2 separate regions of the Homo sapiens genome follow, and region 2 is linked to region 1. The links are contacts of gene promoters, found by promoter capture Hi-C in human tissues and cell types (Jung and others, 2019). All regions are on one chromosome and are shown on one strand. The core of a region is centred on a gene start or on the middle of the fragment in contact, and the rest is flanking DNA. Distances in the headings are between cores, read along the strand shown.

The links. Contacts are between HindIII fragments. The study calls those that stand out against the background at their distance.
Region 2: a contact is called between a fragment that was not itself captured here and the fragment with the promoter of CCM2L in region 1, in 2 of the 25 tissues and cell types used here (H1 embryonic stem cells and bladder).

The regions. Positions count from the first base shown.
Region 1 is chr20:32,008,524-32,013,321 of GRCh38, forward strand. CCM2L (CCM2 like scaffold protein) reads left to right here and starts at 1,915. Exons shown (of 10, transcript NM_001365692.1): 1 at 1,915-1,961. The coding sequence starts at 1,932. RefSeq lists enhancers at 1,737-2,264, 3,175-3,766. The HindIII fragment of the contact is 15,048 bases long and covers 1-4,798 here.
Region 2 is chr20:31,786,396-31,790,799 of GRCh38, forward strand. The region is part of intron 12 of TPX2 (TPX2 microtubule nucleation factor); the gene reads left to right. Among named protein-coding and RNA genes, the nearest start is that of MYLK2, 31 kb to the right of the region's middle. RefSeq lists an enhancer at 1,861-2,360. The HindIII fragment of the contact is 7,543 bases long and covers 1-4,404 here.

The sequences.
Region 1 (4,798 bases), core at 665-3,164:
GAACCCAGGTGTCTTGGCAAGGTGTGGATGGGCCACACAGAACCTTTCCATCTGTCCTGGGTGGGGCATGCAGAATGCATAGGTCCTAGAGGTAAGGAACGCTAGGCTCAGATCCAGACCAGCCAGAAATCCCAGGTCCTCCTCTTACTCACTGTGTGACCTCCTTGAACCAGGCTCTGAACTTCAGCCTCAGTTTCAAAAATCTGTATAATAGGTACTATCATGGTACTCAACACTGTGAGTAAGTTAAAATATGTAAAGTGTTCAGCACAGAGCCACAAAGGGGACCTTGCCTCCCTAATATACTCCCAAGAGAGCAAAACAGCTCAAGACCCTATGAACATGGTCAGAATAAAAATGGAGTCACTAATGTTAAGAAAACCTTGACAAATAGAGCTGGGGAAGGCCATAGAGGGTTTTCATGCTTGCATAACAAATAAGACTGATAACAAAACAGATAACAACAAGACTGATAACAAAAAAGACTACAAAAATCACAACCTTGCACAAAGGCCATTGAAACCTTGCACAAAAAATACTTCCGCAAGGACATCTGCCCAGCAACTGCCTGTCCAACTTTAGACTGGCATCACCCTTGCTATTGATCTTTGCAATCAAGAATAATTATTTCAGAAACAATAATGTAATCCTTATTTTTTTCCTTTAAAAATCTTTGTCTTCCCCCCACCTCCCTGAAAATGCACATCGCTTACTATGGCATATGGGTAATTCCCACTGCAATGCTTAATTCCTAAGTGAAACATCTTTTATTTTAGAGAGCCTCTGTTTGTTCTTTAATTTGACAACCACTAAGCAGGTAAACAGTTAATGTTTACTGAGCACTTATTTTTTTTCAGTTTTTTTTTTTTTTTTTTTTTTTTTTGAGATGGAGTCTCAGCCAGTCACCAAGGCTGGAGTGTAATGGCTGGATCTCAGCTCACTGCAACCTCCACCACCCAGGTTCAAGCGCTTCTCCTGCCTCAGCCTCCAGAGTAGCTGGGATTACAGGCATGTGCCACCGCACCCGGCTGATTTTTGTATTTTTAGTAGAGACAAGGTTTCACCATGTTGGCGAGGCTGGTCTCGAACTCCTCACCTCAGGTGATCTGCCTGCCTCAGCCTCTCAAAGTGCTGGGATTACAGGTGTGAGCCACCACGCCCAGCCTTACTGAGTACTTAATATGTGCCAGAAGTTCTTCTAGGTGCATTTAATCCCCGCAAGGTCACTATGAGGTTAAACTAGTATTATGCTCATTTTAAAGACGGGAAAACTGAGGCACTGGTGGTTAAGGGACTTCCCAAAGGTCATAACCCTAGTAAGTGCCAAAGCCAGGATTCGAATTCAAGCAGCCTATCTTCAAAGCCCACGCATACTGCCTCCCTTAATAGTAATGATTAATTTTTTAAAATCATAACTTGCTTGGCTACAATACTCTCTATAAGGCACTTTCCATCCACCTTTTCATTTCTCACCACAGCAGCCTAGGGAGGGAGGCAGTGTTGACTCCCAACTTATAGAGAGGAGGGGGAAACAGGCTGTGACAGGGGGAACTGACTTGCCTTGCCAAGGTCACACAACAAGGTCAGTGGCAGAAGTAGGGCTGGAACTTGGAATTTTCCAAACCAGGACTTCAAATGTGGGGGGCCCTTTCCCAGCCTTGGCCAATTCCCAAGCTCCCCCAATAACCCGCCTTCTGGCTAGAGGCCTTGAGCCTCCCTCCTCAGGTCAGCTCTGCCTGGGCTTCCACCCTTCAGCTGCAGGGTCCCAAGGCTGTGTCCTCCACACCCCCTGCCCTCCCCATCAGATGGGAGGGGCAGGAACTCCAGGGCTGGTGGAGTTTCCGACCAGGCAGGAAAAAGAACAAAGGAACTGGATGTGGGGGTGGAAGGGATGGCCAGGAGGGTGGCAGGAGTAGAGGGGACATTTCACCATGGAATATGAAGTCAAGAAAGGGAAGAAGGTAGGTGGGAGGTTGGGAGGGACGAAGGGAGAGGAATGTCCCCAAAGCTGGGGAAGGGGGCAAACTGGGGCGGGGTGGGGGGTCGGTAGCGAGGGGCATAAGTGGAGCCTTTCTTCTCATTTGGAAGTAACTTCCTTCCCACTCTTGGACAGCCAGACAGTCAGGCTCTAAACTCCCTGTTTCTCCACTCTCAGTGGCCTCTGGCATCCCTAACGTGGACAGACAGGGACCTTCTCAGGAAACCTGGCCAGACGGACTCAGTTTGGGAGATTCTCCACACCTGCTTCCCTGGTGTTCCCCGCAGCTCCCTCCTGCAGCCTCTCAGACAGACGGACAGACAGACACCCAGCAGATCCATTCTCCTGCTCGTCACTGCCCCAAACAGAAGGACTCAGCCAGGGCAATTCCGATAGGATGTTGCCTACACAGGCTTGAGTCTCCCACCTGCCCCCTGCCCCTCCCACCTTTCTACAAGGGCGTATGTAAGGCGTCAGCCAGAAGCCATTCCCCTCACCCCTTCTGACTCTGAAGTTTTCTAGTATGCTTCTCTGGGTGTCTCACCTGGTTGTCTTTGGAGTTCAGGGAGGCGCTCTGATTTTAACTTCCATCTTACCCCCATTTCCACCCTCCCCTCTACCCCACCCCCACCAGAAACATATGTCCGGGCTGTTCTAAAAGGTGCCCACATGAATCACAGAGGGCTCAGAAGGGAGCCAAGACATACGTGCATGTTTTCTCTTAGTTTGTTCTTTTAATAGACATTTATTGAGTGCCTATTATGCACCAGGTATTTCTTTTTTTAAAGCAATAAATAAGTTAATGTAAAATTGCATAGAAGGGCCGGGTGCAGTGGCTCACACCTGTAATTCTAGCACTTTGGGAGGCCGAGGCGGGTGGATCACCTGAGGTCAGGGGTTCGAGACCAGCCAGGCCAACATGGCGAAACCCTGTCTCTACTAAAAATACAAAAATTAACTGGGCATGGTGGCACATGCCTGTAATCCCAGCTACTAAGGAGGCTGAAGCTTGAACCTAGGAGGCAGAGGTTGCAGTGAGCCAAGATCGCGCCACTGCACTCCAGCCTGGGTGACAGAGTGAGACTCTGTCTAAAATAAATAAATAAATACATAAATAAAAATTTTTTAAAAATCATAGGAGGTCCCATACTCAGTGCTGGAGGAAACTGATCAGTTTGAGTCGAGAACTGACGGGTGGAAGGAAAGTGGGTAGGGAAGAGTGTTTGAGGCAGAGGAACAGCATGTGCAAAACCCCACAGTGGGAAGTCACATAGCAAGCCAGAGGGACTGAAGGAGGACTGTGTAGTGGGGGCCCAGGGGACAAGAATGAGGCAGATGGGGCTGGACAGGTGGGCAGAGCTGAGCCATTCAGGGCCACCAACAAAAATACTTACCCCTCCCCACCCCTAATACACACACATACGCAAGACAAAGTCCCAGCTCCATAGCCGGCATTCAAGATATGTTCGTCTCATAATCTAGCCACGGCAGACTGACTGCACACAGCTTCTCCAGGCTCACCCTCATCCAGCCTTTGAGGCATCCAGAATTTTGCACATGCTGTGCCCTCTGCTTGGCATGCTTTCTCCCAGATAGTTTCTTCTCATTCCTTAAAGTTGCTACATACCCCATCCTGGCTCCATGATATGGGTTCTAACATAAGCTGAGTACCCATAAGAATCACCTGAGGGCTCATTAAAACACAGATCACTGGGTCTTACCCCCAGTTTCTGGGCCAATAGGCCTGGGATGGGGTTCAAGAAATTGCATTTCTGGCCAGGCACAGTGACTCACGCCTGTAATCGCAACACTTTGGGAGGCTGAGGCAGGAGGATTGCATGAGCCTAGGAGTTCAAGACCAGACTGGGCAACATAGTAAGACCCCATCTCTTTAAAAAATATATATTAGCTAGGTGTGGTGGTGGTGCATGCCTGTGGTCCTAGCTACTGTGAGGCAGAGGTGGGAGGATCGCTGAGTCAGAAAGAATTTGCAATTCTAATAACCCACAGGTTATGCTGATGGCTGTGGGGCCACACTTTGAGAACCACCGGTTTAGATCCTGGCTACTCAAAGCGTGGTGCACAGACCAGTAGTATCAGCACCAGATGGGAGCTTGGTAGAAATGCACAGTCTCAAGCTCCAACCCAACTGTACTGAATCAAAACTCCAGGGCAGATAAAGTTGGAAACTCACTAGTCTAGGTCATTTATCACAAGCCCTGGAGGCAAGGATAGGATCCAGGTCTCCACTGAATCCTCAGCACCCAGCAGAGTCCAGCCATACAGGTGTAAATGTTTACTGAATGAATGAGTAAATGAACAGATGTATTTGTGGACTTGTGTTCTGTTTACCTGGAAAGAACGTGAGCTCCTTGCAGGCAGGGAGGTTGTCTTACTCACATTTGCCTTGTTACACAGTTAAGTAATCACACCACACATTCACTCAGTGGTTTTCAGCTGAGCTGCCTTTTGAAATTACCTAAGAAGGCTTAAAAAAATCTTAATGGACCGAGCTCATTAACCCCAATGGCTCACACCTGTAATCCCAGCACTTTGGGAGGCCAAGGCAGGAGAATCATTTGAGCTCAGGAGTTCAAGCCAGCCCAGGCAACGCAGTGAGACCTCATCTCTACTAAAAATTTAAAAAATTAGCAGGGCATGGTAGCACACACCTGTAGTCCCAATTACTTGGAAGGCTGAGGCAGAGGGATCGCTTGAACCTAAGAGATCAAGGCTGCAGTGAGCTATGATTGTGCCACTGCACTTCAATCTGGGCAACAGAGCAACATCCTATCTCAAAAAAATTAAAAAATAAAAAAT
Region 2 (4,404 bases), core at 1,365-3,864, 220 kb before region 1:
TACTGTTTTTTTTTTTTTTTGAGACAATCTCACTCTGTTGCCCAGGCTAGAGTGCAGAAATGTAGTGGTGTAATCTCAGCTCACTGCAACCTCTGCTTCCCAGGTTCAACCAATTCTCATGCCTCAGCCTCCTGAGTAGCTGGGAATACAGGCACACACCACCATGCCCAGCTAAGTTTTGTATTTTTAGTAATGACTGGGTTTCGCCATGTTGCCCAGGCTGGTCTTGAGCTCGTGGTCTCAAGCAATCCACCTGCCTTGGCCTCCCAAAGTGCTAGGATAGTAGGCGTGAGCCACTGCACCCAGCTGAACTACATTTTTGAAAACACTGATTAGGAAATTGGTTTGTCAGTTGTGTGTACTCTAGAAATGCTAGGGTGAAGTAGTAAGTAGGGAAGGGTGACCAGAGTTCATTAGGAGTTAGTTGAGATCTTAGAGTAGTTGGGTACCAGGTTATACCTGTGAAAATTCTGTGTAAACAGATCTGCAAAGCACTAGGTAAGGTGTGACCGAATTGATACGATTTGCGGAATGGAAGTGTTTGCCAAATCCAGCTGGTTCTCAGAATCCTCTGGGGCTCTTATTACATAAACAGATTTGTTGGGTACATCACAGAGGGAGCCCAGATAAAGCACTGAGTATGGTGCCTGACACGCAGTAAGCAGGGGTATTATTAATAGTAATTGTCATTTTATTGAGTGCTTACATTGTCCTGAGTACTTTATGTAGATTGTCTTATTTATGTCTGATTACACTTCTAAGAGGTGGAGTCTATACTTATCCCTATTTTTCAGACAAGGGAATAAACACTGAGAGGTATCTAGTATGCAGAACCAGAATCTGAGCCCATCATCTCCTTAAACACTGTATTATTGTACCCTACAATGCTTACTGTTATCATATTTATTTTGGCAAATGAGGTTTCTGAGTTTGACACTGGCTGTTTGCAGGTTTCCCTACTAAAATTTCCAGTGATTTGACTTCAACTCTTGGTTTCTAGAGAAGCATAGCATAGGAAGAGATGTTAGATGTGTTTTCTTCTACCCGCTTCACTTTTCAGAAAGGGAGGTTTTGAAAGGGGTGCAAACCAAAAAGTATGAGACAGGTCTCAATCAATTTAGAAGTTTATTTTGCTAAGGTTAAGGATGCATGCCTGGGAGACAGGTCTGTACCTTTCTCCAAAGATGATTTTGAGGGCTTCATATTTTAAGGGGAAAGGGTGGATAGTGGGGAAAGGGGAAGAGATTTTGAAAAGGTATGGGTAGGTAAGAGGCAAATGGTTGCATTCTTTGTTCACATGTGAGAGGGGGTAGAGGAATAGTTACTTATGCATTCATCTAGTTCAGTGAATCTGCATTTTTACATAAGATAATTAGGGCAGAGGAAGCAATCAGATACGCATTTCTCAGGTGAGCCAAGGGATGACTTTGAGTTCTGTCCTTTGTCCTGTACCTGTGAAGATAAGCTATCAATTTATATTGTCAGGGTGAAATTCAACAGAACTGTTTTAGGGTGAAGAACTTGGGGCCCCCAAGGAATTTTCAAGTGGGCAAATTGTGAGGGAGGTATGTACCTTTTTCATCTTTGAATGGGAGGCAGGTTTGCATGTTGAAGTTCCTAGCTTGACTTTTCTCCTTGGCTTACTGATTTTGGGGGTCCCAAGATTTATTTTCCTTTCACAGGGGATTATAGCTTGCCTATGGAAACATTTAAAAGAAACATTTATAAGAGAGTAAGTCGGCCAGGCGCGGTGGCTCACGCCTGTAATCCCAACACTTTGGGAAGCCAAGGTGGGCTGATCACCTGAGGTCAGGAGTTGGAGACCAGCCTGCCCAACATGGTGAAACCCTGTCTCTACTAAATACAAAAAAAATTAGCCGGGCGTGGTGGCAGGCACCTGTACTCCTAGCTACTCAGGAGGCTGAGGCAGGAGAATTGCATGAACCCAGGAGGTGGAGGTTGCAGTGAGCTGAGATTGCACCACTGCACTCCATCCTGGGCAACAGAGCGAGACTCTGTCTCAAAAAAAAAAAAAAAAAAAAAAGTCTTTGAACTTCTAGTGTTGGACTTTTACAGCAGAATTTAAGAGCCCACCTTCCAGAGCCTGATGCAGCTTGTCTGTCTGATGCTTTTGTTCCCCATCCACGTCCCCCCCAGTGCTGAAGCTGTTTCGTGTGTCCTTACAGTGTTTCCTCTGCACTTCCACTTGTGGTTGATAAGTGGCAGGGGGACAATAAATAGAGTTGATGAAAGATGGGCTTGGGCAGCAGTGGGCCCAAGTGAGGCAGAAATGAGAAAAGGACTCCTGGGGCAGAGGTGGAGTGACAAAGCCTTGAGCACGAGGGTGTGAAATGTGAACTTGGTGCTGACCTCTATTGGGCAGCCGGGGCACCACGGAGGTGGATGTGGTGTCAGTGAGACCAGTGAGTAATTTTAGCAGAGATACTTTAGGGATGACTTGGGGAGGGCAGCAGGCTTTTTTAAAATATATATACTTCCCAAAATAACATTGCTTCAGAGTAGTTTCCTAACTGCCCTGGGACAGGCCTGAGATCCTGTCCCAGGGTACTTGGGGGGCACATCCTGTCTTAGGGAGAGGTATTCACCTCCCCATTCCCATCCCCAGTCCTGGCTGCTTTTCCTAAATGCATCATTTATCCACCCACATTGCCCCATTCTAACCACATATCACCTCTTTAGAGATACCTTCCCCTTCATTGAGGGAGCATCCCTCTAATAACCATTAGCTCCATATTCTGCTGGGTTTCTTTAGAGCACTTGTGAAAATTTGGAAGTATTTAATTTGTTAAATCTTCATTGTCTCTTTCCTCCATTAGAATGTGAGCTCCCTGAGAACAGGGACCGTGTGTATCTATATTATTCACTCTGTATCCCTAGCCCCTAGCATAGTGACCACCACAGCACAAGCACTCTGATATCGGATAACTGAGTGAGTAATAGTAGAAGCTGACATGCACCTAGACACTAGGAATTCAAAGATGGTATAAGACACGGCCCTTGTCCTCAAAGCTTTCATAGTCTGGTAGAGCATATAGATGTGTAAATGAGTAAATATGGTAATATTAACCAACATATGTTCATTGAACAGTTACTACGGGGTCTTCTAGTAGGTGATATGGGAAGACAAAAGAATGCAAATGACAATATTCCAGTCCTCAAGGAGCTTATAATTTAAAAAACTTAAAATAGCAAAAACAAAAAAAAACAAAAAAAAACTTTCTTTGTTTCTGTAAACCCAATTTTCTTTTCATTATTTCTAATCGAGCCCCTAGTTAACTTTGATGGAAGGGGGGCTGGGGTGTGAGTGGATAGTTGCTGCAAAGATGATTTTCATAAATCATCTTTTCCTCTCCCCCAACTAATTAAGAGATTGAGCTCACTCATACATATCTCCTTCATGGCCTACTTATTAGAGGTTTCCCTTGCTTCTCTTTTAAAATGCAGACATTTCTGTTGGGTGAATGCAGAGAGAGGGAATTATTTCAGAACTAAATGAATCCTCAATTACTTATTTCAATTACTTTATTTTATTAAAAAACCCCAAGGCCTAGAAGGATATCTGATGTGTTTAAGGTTATACAGATTGGAAGCAGAGCTGGGCTGGAACAGACAGACCCGTGGCTTCTTGCTCACTATTTGTCTCTCTTCCACTTGCCCCTGGTGCATTCAAGCAAGATGCTAGTGTCCACATGTCTATAGAAGAGCAGATTTTGTTGTTGTTGCTGTTTTATGGTAAACATCATTTGACAACCCATTTCTTGGAGTTTTGTCACTCTGAATACAAGATCTGCTATATTGGATTTCACTATGCTAATGATTCTAGCATTCTTTAGAAAACATATAAGAAATTTCACAGCAGAATGAGCATTCTCAGTGGTCACCTTGAGAGACTGTAAATCCCTTCCAATGATTGTGATACTGCAAAAAGCATTTTGGAAAAGCCATGCATCTTGAATCCTGAGATGAGCCTTTGGGATCCCTCCCAGGATGACAAATCTTCACGTGTATTTTAAACATTAATTTGCTTTTAGGATCTAGTCTAAGGTTATTTGGAACTAAAACTTCTGAGTAGTCCAAGATAATAGAGGTGTAAACTATTTGTTAAATGAATAGTAAAGATTGAGCAACTGTCTTGCATGGTCCAGAAAGTGCCTTTGAAAGCCACTCCAAGAAAGACATTCCAAACATGTTTCGAACGGTTGCAGCATTGTTGGGATTAAGGAGAAGGCTCCCAAGGTATCCTCCTAGAGTCCAAGGTATAAATTCTGTTACTCATGTGTTCATTCATTCTTACTGCATTCATTCAACAAACATTTACTGAGTGCTTTATACTTGCCAAGGTCTATGTTAGGTACTTGGGTCTGATGGAGTAAAATAGTCTCC